Linked DNA regions of Homo sapiens: all the other regions are linked to region 2. The links are contacts of gene promoters, found by promoter capture Hi-C in blood cells and fetal thymus (Javierre and others, 2016). All regions are on one chromosome and are shown on one strand. Each heading gives the region's core, a stretch centred on a gene start or on the middle of the fragment in contact. The rest is flanking DNA. Distances are from core to core; before and after follow the strand shown. Region 1 has its middle 64 kb from the start of HTR4. Region 2 holds the start of SH3TC2 (SH3 domain and tetratricopeptide repeats 2). Region 3 has its middle 23 kb from the start of HTR4. Region 4 has its middle 76 kb from the start of ADRB2.

What was found. Contacts are between HindIII fragments. The CHiCAGO score rates a contact against its expected background, and 5 or more counts as called.
Region 1: a fragment that was not itself captured here is called in contact with the fragment with the promoter of SH3TC2 in region 2 in 8 of 17 cell types (naive CD8 T cells, total B cells, total CD8 T cells and 5 more); the score reaches 9.0 in naive CD8 T cells.
Region 3: a contact is called between a fragment that was not itself captured here and the fragment with the promoter of SH3TC2 in region 2, in 1 of 17 cell types (total B cells). The highest score is 5.9, in total B cells.
Region 4: a fragment that was not itself captured here is called in contact with the fragment with the promoter of SH3TC2 in region 2 in 2 of 17 cell types (non-activated CD4 T cells and naive CD8 T cells); the score reaches 5.9 in non-activated CD4 T cells.

What each region holds. Positions count from the first base shown.
Region 1 is chr5:148,717,328-148,720,027 of GRCh38, reverse strand. No RefSeq gene overlaps it. Among named protein-coding and RNA genes, the nearest start is that of HTR4, 64 kb to the right of the region's middle. RefSeq lists an enhancer at 1-505. The HindIII fragment of the contact is 1,112 bases long and covers 789-1,900 here.
Region 2 is chr5:149,061,614-149,064,313 of GRCh38, reverse strand. It overlaps SH3TC2 (SH3 domain and tetratricopeptide repeats 2), which reads left to right and starts at 1,252. Exons shown (of 17, transcript NM_024577.4): 1 at 1,252-1,343. The coding sequence starts at 1,292. MIR584 (microRNA 584) reads left to right here and starts at 1,905; the gene lies at 1,905-2,001. SH3TC2-DT (SH3TC2 divergent transcript) reads right to left here and starts at 997. Exons shown (of 3, transcript NR_122044.1): 1 at 640-997; 2 at 1-64. RefSeq lists a silencer at 994-1,288. The HindIII fragment of the contact is 16,687 bases long and covers 1-2,700 here.
Region 3 is chr5:148,676,066-148,678,765 of GRCh38, reverse strand. No RefSeq gene overlaps it. Among named protein-coding and RNA genes, the nearest start is that of HTR4, 23 kb to the right of the region's middle. The HindIII fragment of the contact is 166 bases long and covers 1,194-1,359 here.
Region 4 is chr5:148,749,685-148,752,384 of GRCh38, reverse strand. No RefSeq gene overlaps it. Among named protein-coding and RNA genes, the nearest start is that of ADRB2, 76 kb to the left of the region's middle. The HindIII fragment of the contact is 355 bases long and covers 1,152-1,506 here.

The DNA of each region.
Region 1 (2,700 bases), core at 95-2,594, 340 kb after region 2:
GAGGTCATTGCTGATTACACACGTTGCTCCAAGTTCTCAATTCTGTACTCTTCTTTGGTTAGTGCTTCTCACTGCCTTAACTGACCTTACAGGACTTCAACAACTGCCTGCTTAACTACATGTCCATTACTAGCCCCCTGTGTTCTCTTAAAGTCCAGACCTGTATCACAGAGGCGTCTTCCTACAGTCATCATTTGACTGGTAGGGGGCTTAATTAATTAGCATTTGTAAGATGTCTCCAGCCCGTTAGTGGATTAGAGGTAATTTGGAAAGCAGCGCCAAGAGCTTTCTATTACCTTCCTCTCTGCTGGTCTCTTTTCCTGCTTCTGGAGTAACTGGCATTGATGTTGACTCAAATGAACTTAAACTTGTTATCCTGTCTCATTTGATTTTTCATTAAATAGATTCCAAAGTATCCCAGAAACACTTTACAATGATCAGTCATTTCTCCTACAGACTAAACAAATTCAATGTTAATGAATAATGCAGTTTTATAATTGCACAAAGGGTGAAGTGTTTGAAACCACAGATAAAATATCTTGGATTCTTAGAGTTTTCTTTTATAAAAACCCTTCTCCTGTAGCCAACTTGGACATCATAGCTCTCCCATGACCGCCACCTAGTAATCCCTTCCTCACACTTAATGAACGCTTCCTTGACAGTCATAGAATTTAAATGTTTTGTTCTTTTTTTCATACCTTGATTGAATATTTTTTGTTCTGTTCTTATTTAGCCACACAGAGAATGATGCAATTAGGAAATACATTTGGGGGCTAATAAGGAAAGCTTGAACCAATACGGTTTAACAAGATGAAGGTTTGTTTTTTCTCATATACAGGTAGTCTGTAGGTTGACTTTCTATAGTTGTAGAAGTGGTTCTAGGATACCACCTATGTCCTAGACTGCTATCTTTTTATTCTGTCGTCATTAACATGTGACTTCCAACTTCAAGGAGCAAGACAGACAAAGTAGCTCCAGATATCAAGTCTTTATTCCGGGCAGGAAGAGGGAGGAAATATGGAAAAACAAAAAAGAGCCTCTTACCCTTCCTGAAAGCCTTATCCAGAACTTAGTTACCTGGCCACTGCTATCTTAAAATGAGGCTGAAAAAAGTAATTTTGTATCAGTGCACACCGATATCCCTGACAAAACTAGGTTTCTATTCTGAAGGAGGAAGGGAAAATGGGCATGAAATTGGTAATTATCAGCTTTTGCCACACAGCACTTTTTGACAGTATGTCTTAATAATCCTTAAGTCAATAATAAGTTACAAAAATAAGTGAAATACACACCTACCCCAGTGGTCATGGGCCTTTTGGGGTGCTAGATGACTTAATAGAGTACAGAGATCATTTTATCTGGAAGAATATTAATAAATCGTTATTTGCCACATGGTACCCAGCAATGACAAAAAGTAGATGCAAAGGGAGAAAACTTTTTAAAATCTTTATTAGCGTAGCGGAAATACTAACTTTCCTAGGCTTCTTCCTGCAGGTTCACCTGCAATTACTCTGAAGCAAAAGGGACTGGTGTTCCTTGTCCAAGAGCCCTGTCTAATCTATTATTCTTCTAGTTGGATTTTTGTTAGCTACTATATGTTCTGTACCATATTAAAGGTGGGTTGCTTCATGAGTTAAATATAAATAGGACAGCACCCCAACAGGGGAAGCAGAAGGCCACAGTGGGATTCTAAATTTGTGTCAACAACAACAACAATAACAAAACAAATGATACTTGTTGTGCAACTATCTAGCCATTGGCCATTTTCAAAATCTTTCTGCCTTAGGGAGATAATGACAGATTATTTGGGGTTGGAGGCAGTGTAGGGAAGAGATGGATAGGAGAAGACTAGGCAATTTTCTGAGTTTAGTGTAAGAAAAATGCCCAGTAGATAGAAGCTTAGCAGGTATTCAGTCAATGCTCGTTTCCTGTACCCTTTGTGATTCTGGAGCTAAGAAGTTTAGAAACTACCAGGGAGTTAAGTTCATGAAAGCATTTCATCTCCACTAAATTTTGTACCATCATCCAGAAGTAATGAAGCAAAATTGCTGAGATCCTTTTCACACCAGGGATTAGAAAACCTTTTCTCTGCCATCCTTTAGTGGCTTACTATGTAGCATTTGTGGCTTAGATCTTACCCAGAAACTACTTCCATCAGCAAAATACAGCATCCTGCGATCCTGTCACCTACTTTTTGCCTTCTCTTGGCTCTAACAGATGTTGTTTTCAGGGAGCCAGAAACAGAACCAATGTATCCTTTGATTCACTTAAGATTGCGGTTCAAGTTTGCGGAGATGCCATTTTTCCAGTAAGGTCTCTTCATTTGTTTTAGTCTGTTCTCACACTGCTATAAAGAACTACCTAAGATTGGGTAATTTATGAAAAAAAGAGGTTTAATTGACTCATAGTTCTGCAGGCTTAACAGGAAGCATGACTGGGAGGCCTTGGGAAATTTACAATCATGGCAGAAGGTGAAGGGGAAGCAAGCACCTTCTTCACATGGCAGAGCAGGAGAGGCAGAAGGTGAAGGGAAAGCAAGCACCTTCTTCACATGGCAGAGCAGGAGAGACAGAGAGTGAAGGAGGAAGTGTCACATACTTTTAAACCATCAGATCTCCTGAGAACTCACTATCACAAGAACAGCAAGGGGGAAATCGCCCTCATGATCCCGTTACCTCTTACCAGGTCCTTCCTTCAGTA
Region 2 (2,700 bases), core at 3-2,502:
CCTTCTCTTGGCTCACACCTCCTGTTCTTTGGGCCTCTCACCAGGGTCCTTTCACCACTTTGCTCTAGTCATGAAGGAAACATTGGGTGAGCAGTGCTCTTTGAGCTTGGTTGTTAGAGCAGTCATGCTTCCGTCCTACCTTGCTGGCATTCAGCCATATTTTCTCCATCTCCTTTGCAAGATCTCATGGGAGGTTTTCTGAAATTTAGCCACAGTGTCAACTGGATTCCCCTGCTCCACTGCCTATCTGAAACAGGAAAGAGGTTAGTCTTGTGGGACCAGTTTTGCTTGCATACCTGTAGACTTGCTGTATTTTTTCTTTTAGTTTTATTTTTAATTGACACATAATAATTCTACACATTTATGGGCTAGAATGTGATGTTTCAATATATCTATGTATTGTGTAATGAACAAATCAAGGTAATTATCATATCCATCATCTCAAACATCATTGTTTTTTTGTGGTGAGAACATTCAAAATCCTCTCTTCTATGTTGAAATATACAATACGTTATTAACTGTAGTCCCCCTACTGTGCAATAGAACACTAGAACTTACTCCTCCTATGTAACTCTAACCTTTTACCTATTGACCAACCTCTCCCCATCCTTTGATGTATTTGGTTCTCCATCCCCTCACCTGTAAAATGCTGGGCTTCATCAGGTGATCTCCTGGATTCTTTTCCTGCACACCAGCAGCTGGGGGTTTGCATGTTCCCCAGTGAGGAGCTGGCTCATTGATGCTGCTAGGTCCAAGTGAAATGCTGCACCCACAGCTCCAACTTTATCAGAGAGCCAAGGGAGGCCTTTGCAGAGAGAGACTGGGTGGAGATCACTGTAAAGGGGTGGCAGGCCAGTCAGTGTGGGCCAAGTCAGTCGGGGAGGGAGCAAGAAGAGCAGTCTTGATCTCTGGGATGTTCTCTGCCCTCCTCCCCAGCCCTGGCTGCCCTCACAAGAACCAAACTGTGTATCTCAATCCTAGAATGCGAGGAATGTGCTGCAGGCTGATAGGCATGAAGCGATCTGCTGAGAGGCAGGGAGGAGCCCTGTTCCCCAGGCCTGACAGTGCAGGAGCTGTGGGCCTGCAGGCTGGGCTGGGCTGCCCCTCCCACCCTCCCTGGGCCTCCTGCTGTAGCCGGGATATCAAAGGCTGCATTGTGCATTGAGCAGGCCTCGGTCCCTCGTGTGCCAGGGAGGAGGCGGGAGGAGGGACACCGTTGGGAGGCTGTCCCTTGCAGCACTCTTCTGGCCTGTGTTCCCAAGGGCCTCGGCCAGGGTAGGATGGTACACACATGGGTGGCTGCTTCTGCATCCCCAGGGAGCGGAGTCTGACCCGGGGCCCAGGTGAGTTTCCCAGGGGGCCCTTGGCCTGTGGCTTGGCCAAAGTGGATGGTCCAGTAGAGGCTCAGGGACCTGCTGGGTTGGAGAAACTTTTCTCCCAAAGATGGGGAGATGATTGTGCTTTCTGGCTGCCTCTCCTTCCTCCCTGGGTAAGTGTTTGTCATGCTGGCTCTGTAAAAAGGGAGCAAAGCCTGGAAGCATCTATTTTTTCCTGAAGAAAGAGCCTTTGAGTTTACTCTGTCAGGAGCTGAGCAGCACTGCTCCTGGCTGCCACTCCCAGGGTGTGACTAAGCCCTTCCTTCCTTTCTTCCCGAGATCCCCCCAGGACAGGAAGAAAGTTCAGGCAGTGAGTTCCTCTGTGGCCTATGGGTGGCCATAAACTTGGCCTTAGTCATTCAAGCCTATTTTTGTCAGGGTTGCTGTTACTGGAGAAAAACAGGCAGTTTCCTGCCTCCACCTATTACAGAGTGATTTGTGTGTGAGTGCATGTGTGAGTGTGTGCATCAAGTTGAGGCAATGGAGAGTTGTTGCTCTAAGAAATTGTCAACTCATGGGAGAGTGACTTAGGGTGACCAGCCATTATGGTTTGCCTGGGACTGAGGAATTTGCTGGGATATGTCAGTTCCAGGCCAACCAGGCTGGTTGGTCTCCCTGAAGCAACCTTCTTGCTTTTTTTCAGAGGAGAATCAAGGTAGGGCCCTGTGTTCTCTTGTGTGGTGTTTATCAGGATGAGTGGTGGCTTTGGGGAAATGTGGGGTTAGATTGGTGGGGGGAGGCTTGCTTGGGAGATAGGGGAACATTGCTCCAAGGAATCATTCCTAACCCTTGTTAGAACTCTGTGTCTTCCTGGAGCTCCACCATGGTTCCTGAGAGAAGGAGCTAAGGAGCATCCCCTAGCTGAGGGCTTTCTACTCTCTGACAGACAACTTTCTTCTTTAGTCTTATGACTTGGGCTTGTAGAAGGCACTTGAGGTCATTAAAGTGAACCCAAAACAACCATATTCTGCTTCCTCTGCTTGAAGTCTTGATCTAGGCACCTTGGCACCTACAGCAGGGAGTGTCCCCCCAAATGATGCCCTTGGCACAAAAGGCACGACTTTAGCTATGAACAATTTCGCTTCTCCAGATTTCTCAGATGTAAACACTTTTCAGTCCCTCCCCCTAAGTCCTATTGTCATTGTGCCCCATGAGAGTAGAAACAGCATGGAGGGAGACGTGCAGGACCACTGGTCGGAGATCGGGGTTCTAGATCTGACTTCCTCTAGCTCTAGTTATGCAGTTGTCATCTTGGCTACTCACTTGGTCTTTGAGGCCAAAGTGTCTGGATTTTATCTTGGTTCTTTTACTTGCCTCGACAACT
Region 3 (2,700 bases), core at 27-2,526, 390 kb after region 2:
GGGTATGTGTTTGACCCCAACTTATTAGCCCAGGGGATGGTTCATGTAGTTATAAACACATGAGTAGTTTGGAAGGGTGGGTTGAAGGAAATCCATAGAAGGACATTATTTTATGATAAAGTCATTGTTTTTGCTTGCAGGAGAGGCAGAAGCCAGATACATAGTGACAGTTATAAGCAAAGGGTAGGCAACATGGGAAAGAGACAGGATGAAGACAGAGCCCACCACAGAGCAAGGTGGAGGTTGCCTGAGAATGAGGAGGGCCCAAGGATGTGTGCAGAAGAGAAAGCAAGTGGTGGAGGGAGGAAAGAAGGAGAAAGGAAAGGAGAGGGGAGAGAGCAAGTGAACATCCAGCTATCTCTTTAGTTGTTCTGCTTAGGTCTCTCAGAGTTTCCTCAAAATCAATATTTTTTACCTTCTTGAAAAAGCAAGTTCAACTTTATTTGAAACACTGACTTTATCACAGAATAAAATAGGGTTGAGCTTGCTTTTATTCTGTCATAGAATTCTAGAATTCAAATTTTCAAATAAATTTTGGTGTGTCTGCTTTCAAAATATTTCTCAGCCACATTCATATTGTCCAGTCTCTACTACCACCATCCTTATTTAAACCATTATCATCTCTTGCTTCACTGCTTGAAAATCTCATAGTTAGCTTTCACGTTTTTTATTCACCTTCCAAAACTGTTATCTTGGAGTAACTGCAGTGATCTTTTGAAATGGGATTATAGCACATCCCTCCTTAAAATGCTTCAGTGACTTCCCATTGCCCTTTGAGCAAAATCTAAATTTTCTCTGTCATACATAGTCAATCTCCTCCTGTTCAGCTCTGCTGCAGCCACACGAGCCTTCTTTCCATTCTTCAAGCTCCTGATTCCCTTTTTCTTGAAGTCGTTGCACCTGCACTTCCTTTGGGCTGGAACAGTTTACCTCCAGCTCTTTGTAGACCAGTCCCTTCTCTTCCTCTGGGTCTAACATTAGGTGCCTCTTACTGAGTGATGCCCAACCCAACGACCCCTCCGTTAGTCTCCATAATAGCACCTTGCTAGTTCCTGCATGTCACTTGAACAATTTGTAAGACTATATTTATTTGTTTGCTTGCTTTTCAAGTTGTCTATTTACCCTGTTAGACTGTGTACTCCATGAAGAAAGACTATCTTGGCTCTTTTAGTCACTGTTGTGTCCCTGAAGCTTAGCATGGTGTCTAGCACATTATTGTTGGCATGCAGTAAAGATTGGCTGAATGAATAAATAAAAGGAAGAAAGAAAATCATAGATCTAGACGATATTTTATATCTGTATATATACATACACATACATCTATATATATATAGTATTATTAGGATTGGTGAATAAGCTTTTTAATTAACAAAGAACCATAATTTTGTAAGCTGTTTTAAACATTCTCCTATGGCAAAGAAAGGGCAGCAGGTATAATTGAGCACTTGAAATAGTAACATTCCTTTACTTTGTAAAATGATATTTTTAGTGCATTCATTTCTCCTCTAATTGTTGCTGCATTTATTTCAGTTCCCATGGGAACCTAGAGAAGGACTTTCCCTATATTCCCCACCTCTTTGGGCTTCAGCAAAAGAAAATGGACCTCAAGGGAGTCTTCAAGAGCTGCTTCAAAATTTACTGTTCATCAAAGCACTTGCTGAAGACTGGCTTCATTTCAGAGGCTGTGCTGTGTTATGGAGAAGGAGGTGAAGGAGATACGGTGCTTACCATGAAGGAGAGGTGGCCACATGAATGCATCGTTTTAATACAGTGCAATAAGTGAGGTGATGAGCTTTGCGCAGATTTTATGGAATTAAGGAAAGAGGTCAGGAAAGCTTTTAGAAACTGTAGAGACAGTGCCTAAATTGTGTTTGAAGTTTGTCCCGAGTCAGCAGATGAGAGAGGGGAGGGAAGAGTGGAAAGCAATCTAGGTCAATTATCTTCCTATTTCAATTCAAAAGCATAAAGGAGATTTAAAACACAAAAGAAAAAAAATGAGAGGAATTAAACTTCAGAAAAGTAAAATACACAGTCGTCCACTGCTTATGTCCATGTGGGAAGGATGGATATGGGCCCAGCTAAAGAAAACTGTGAACTGTGGAAGAAAAAATTCCCACACATTTGTCATCCTGGGTTTTCCCAAGTAAAAGGGGTCAAATAGCCACCTTTGGGATGCATCCAATAGTCCCATGTAAGAGATTTTCTTAGGGTGCGGGGTGAGGATTATGGGGGAAGAGATGTACCAGTCTGAAAGGGAGTAAGCTTGACCACGTGGCTTAGTGGCATCTCTGAAACCAATAGGGATAATGATAATGCTGTAGTCCACATGGTTGGTCCAGAAATGGTGTTTTCATCAAAAGAACACAGTCTAGCAATCTACAGCTATTTCAAAATAACCCAAATCTTTCGTAAGTATGTCTCAGCAACAGGAAGGTGCAACATAATTTCCAGGAACATTCAAATTCCCTCTTTTCCTGCTTTTTTCCCACCTGCCTCTCCAACTTCAGGTGCTGCCTTCAGTTTCTCTGCTCTTTAACTCTCTCCTCAAATCCTCATGTCCTTTTTATTACCCCATCATTTCCTCTTGACCTCAAATCCTGCTATCTCAAGAATTATAAGGAGGACCTCCCCATTTGGATGGGGGAGGAGCCTCAACAGCTAATTATTTTAATTAAGTCACATTCTCATTAATTGAATCAC
Region 4 (2,700 bases), core at 80-2,579, 310 kb after region 2:
AGGAGAGGGATAGCATTAGGAGAAATACCTAATGTAGATGACGGGTTGATGGGTGCAGCAAACCACCATGGCACATGTATACTTATGTAACAAACCTGCACGTTCTGCACATGAACCCCAGAACTTAAAGTATAATAAAAAATGTATGTAAAAAAAAGAAAATGTGATGTATGTATACAATGGGATATTATTCAGCCTTAAAATGGAAAGGAAATCCTGCCATTTGCAAACATATGGATGTACTTGGAGGATATTATGCTAAGTATTATAAGCCAGACACAGAATGACAAACACAACATGACACTATTTATACAACAAATATAAAATAGTCAAACTCTTAGAAGCAGACAATGAATGGTGGTTGCCAGGGACTGAGGAGAGGACATATTAGAAGGTGTTAGTTGAAAGTTTCAAAGGTTTGGTGATACATAATGAATAAGTTCTAAAGGTTTACTGCACGACATAGTGCTTATAGTTAACAATACTGTATAGTATACTTAAAAATTTGCTGAATGGGTAGATGTTATATGAAGTGAGCTTATCACATACACACACACATACATACAAATAATATATAAGAGGAGAGGGGAAAAATTTTGCTTTATATTTATCTCCAAACTCGTCAAGTTGTACATATTAAATATGTGTAGCTTTTTGCATGTCAATCCTACCTTAATAAAGTGGCTTAAAAGAGGAAGAGTATTATAAGGTTCAAACCACAAGAAGAAAGCCAGAAGAAAGCAGGTAGTCCTGGGAGAGACACTATACCACTGTGGTTTTCAAGTCTGAGACACTGACCAGCCCCTTTAAGAAAAAAGAAATTTCTCATAGTCCCCATCATTGATATGTCCCTTTTATTATAATGTTATTTACACATACACAAACATAAAAGTAGGAATAAATCATTCATTTTATAGTTGTATATAACCAAAGTAGCAAAATAACTTTTTAGTTAAATGTACTATGAATAAAATTATAAAACAACTAAAATTTAAGTGGCCAAATTAATTGTGATGGATAATCTCACATGGCTAAAAGGAATTCTCTGCTCACATCTAGTCTAGCGAGGTTCTTTGGAGTTTGACTTGTCTATTCACTCTTGAGCCTCAGTTCTTTCATCACACTTTCTCTGTGGGCATTGTTGCAAAGCTTTAGTCCCACGAAGATCCATGATGTCATCTGACTTTCACATGATGCAAGTGTATCACTTTTTCATTAAGATTGCCTCCTTTTTCTTCATTAACTCATGACAACTGAGTACTATTACTTGGATACAATTTGTTTGCAAATACAACAAATACAAACACTGAAATCTCATAAGGTAGTCATGCAGGTAACCCAAGCATGAGAAACATTTGAATGATAAATTCAAATGCAAAATTGTAGCATTATCATAGGATGCCTAAGAATTTGTGGATATCTGAGGCTGCACTGAGAAGCACTAGTGCTATAGAAAGATTTACTGTGCCTACAGCCTCTTTCTAAGGGAGCTGACGTTTCTAAGCTTCTGCTGCTCAAGTGGCTATATCCTGTGCCTTATCACCCATTGGCCTTTCCCCATCTCTGCACTCTGGCCTCGCATTCTGGCCACTGTGGGTTGGGGCAGGAAGGGGGTGTGCACTTGAACCATGAGCGTGGAATCCACTGGCTGGCTAGTGGCCAGAAATTTTTAGAGGCAAAAAAAGAAGTTGGAAACATTTCCACCCTCTCACTTTTCTCCCCAAAATATGGAGGAAAGTTACCAATCGACAACACACACGAATGCAGAAAGGTGATGCCAAATAACAGCTAGAGAGCTATGTCACTCATAAGTAAAGTGAAGTTATGGGGCCATGGACACCGTAACCATTTTGAATCACTCTTCGGTTTTAGACGCCTATAAACCCAGCTCAAGTTAATGTCAGAAAAAAAAAAAAAAAAAAGGCTGGGCGCGGTGGCTCATGCCTGTAATCACAGCAGTTTGGGAGGCCGAGGTGGGCGGATCATGAGGTCAGGAGATCGAGACCATCCTGGCTAACACGGTGAAACCCCTTCTCTACTGAAAATACAAAAAATTAGCCAGGCATGGTGGTGGGCGTCTGTAGTCCCAGCTACTCGGGAGGCTGAGGCAGGAGAATGGTGTGAACCCGGGAGGCGGAGCTTGCAGTGAGCCAAGATTGCACCACTGCACTCCAGCCTGGGCGACAGAGGAAGACTCCATCTCAAAAAAAAAAAAAAAAAAAAAAAAGGAAATGTAGGCCCAGTGCCGTGGCTCACGCCTGTAATCTCAGCACTTTGGGAGGCTGAGGTGAGTGGATCACCTGAGGTTGGGAGTTCAAGACCAGCCTGGCCAACATGGTGAAACTCCATCTCTACTAATAATACAAAATTAGCCAGATATGGTGGTGCATGCCTGTAATCCCAGCTACTCGGGAGGCTGAGGCAGGCAAATTGCTTGAACTGGGGAGGCAGAGGTTGCAGTGAGCCAAGTTCATGCCATTGTACTCCAGCCTGGGCAACAAGAGTGAAACTCCGTCTCGAAAAATATATAAATAAATAAAAATAAAAAAGGAAATGTAATTGCTCCAAGATGGGAAAATCAATGATTTCATCTGAACCAAGCCTTTCTCTTTCTACTAGTTCTATTATCCTATATGTTTACTTTATTCCAAGACATCACGTGAGGGTAAGAAGGAAAGTGGGCACATCACTCTACCAATA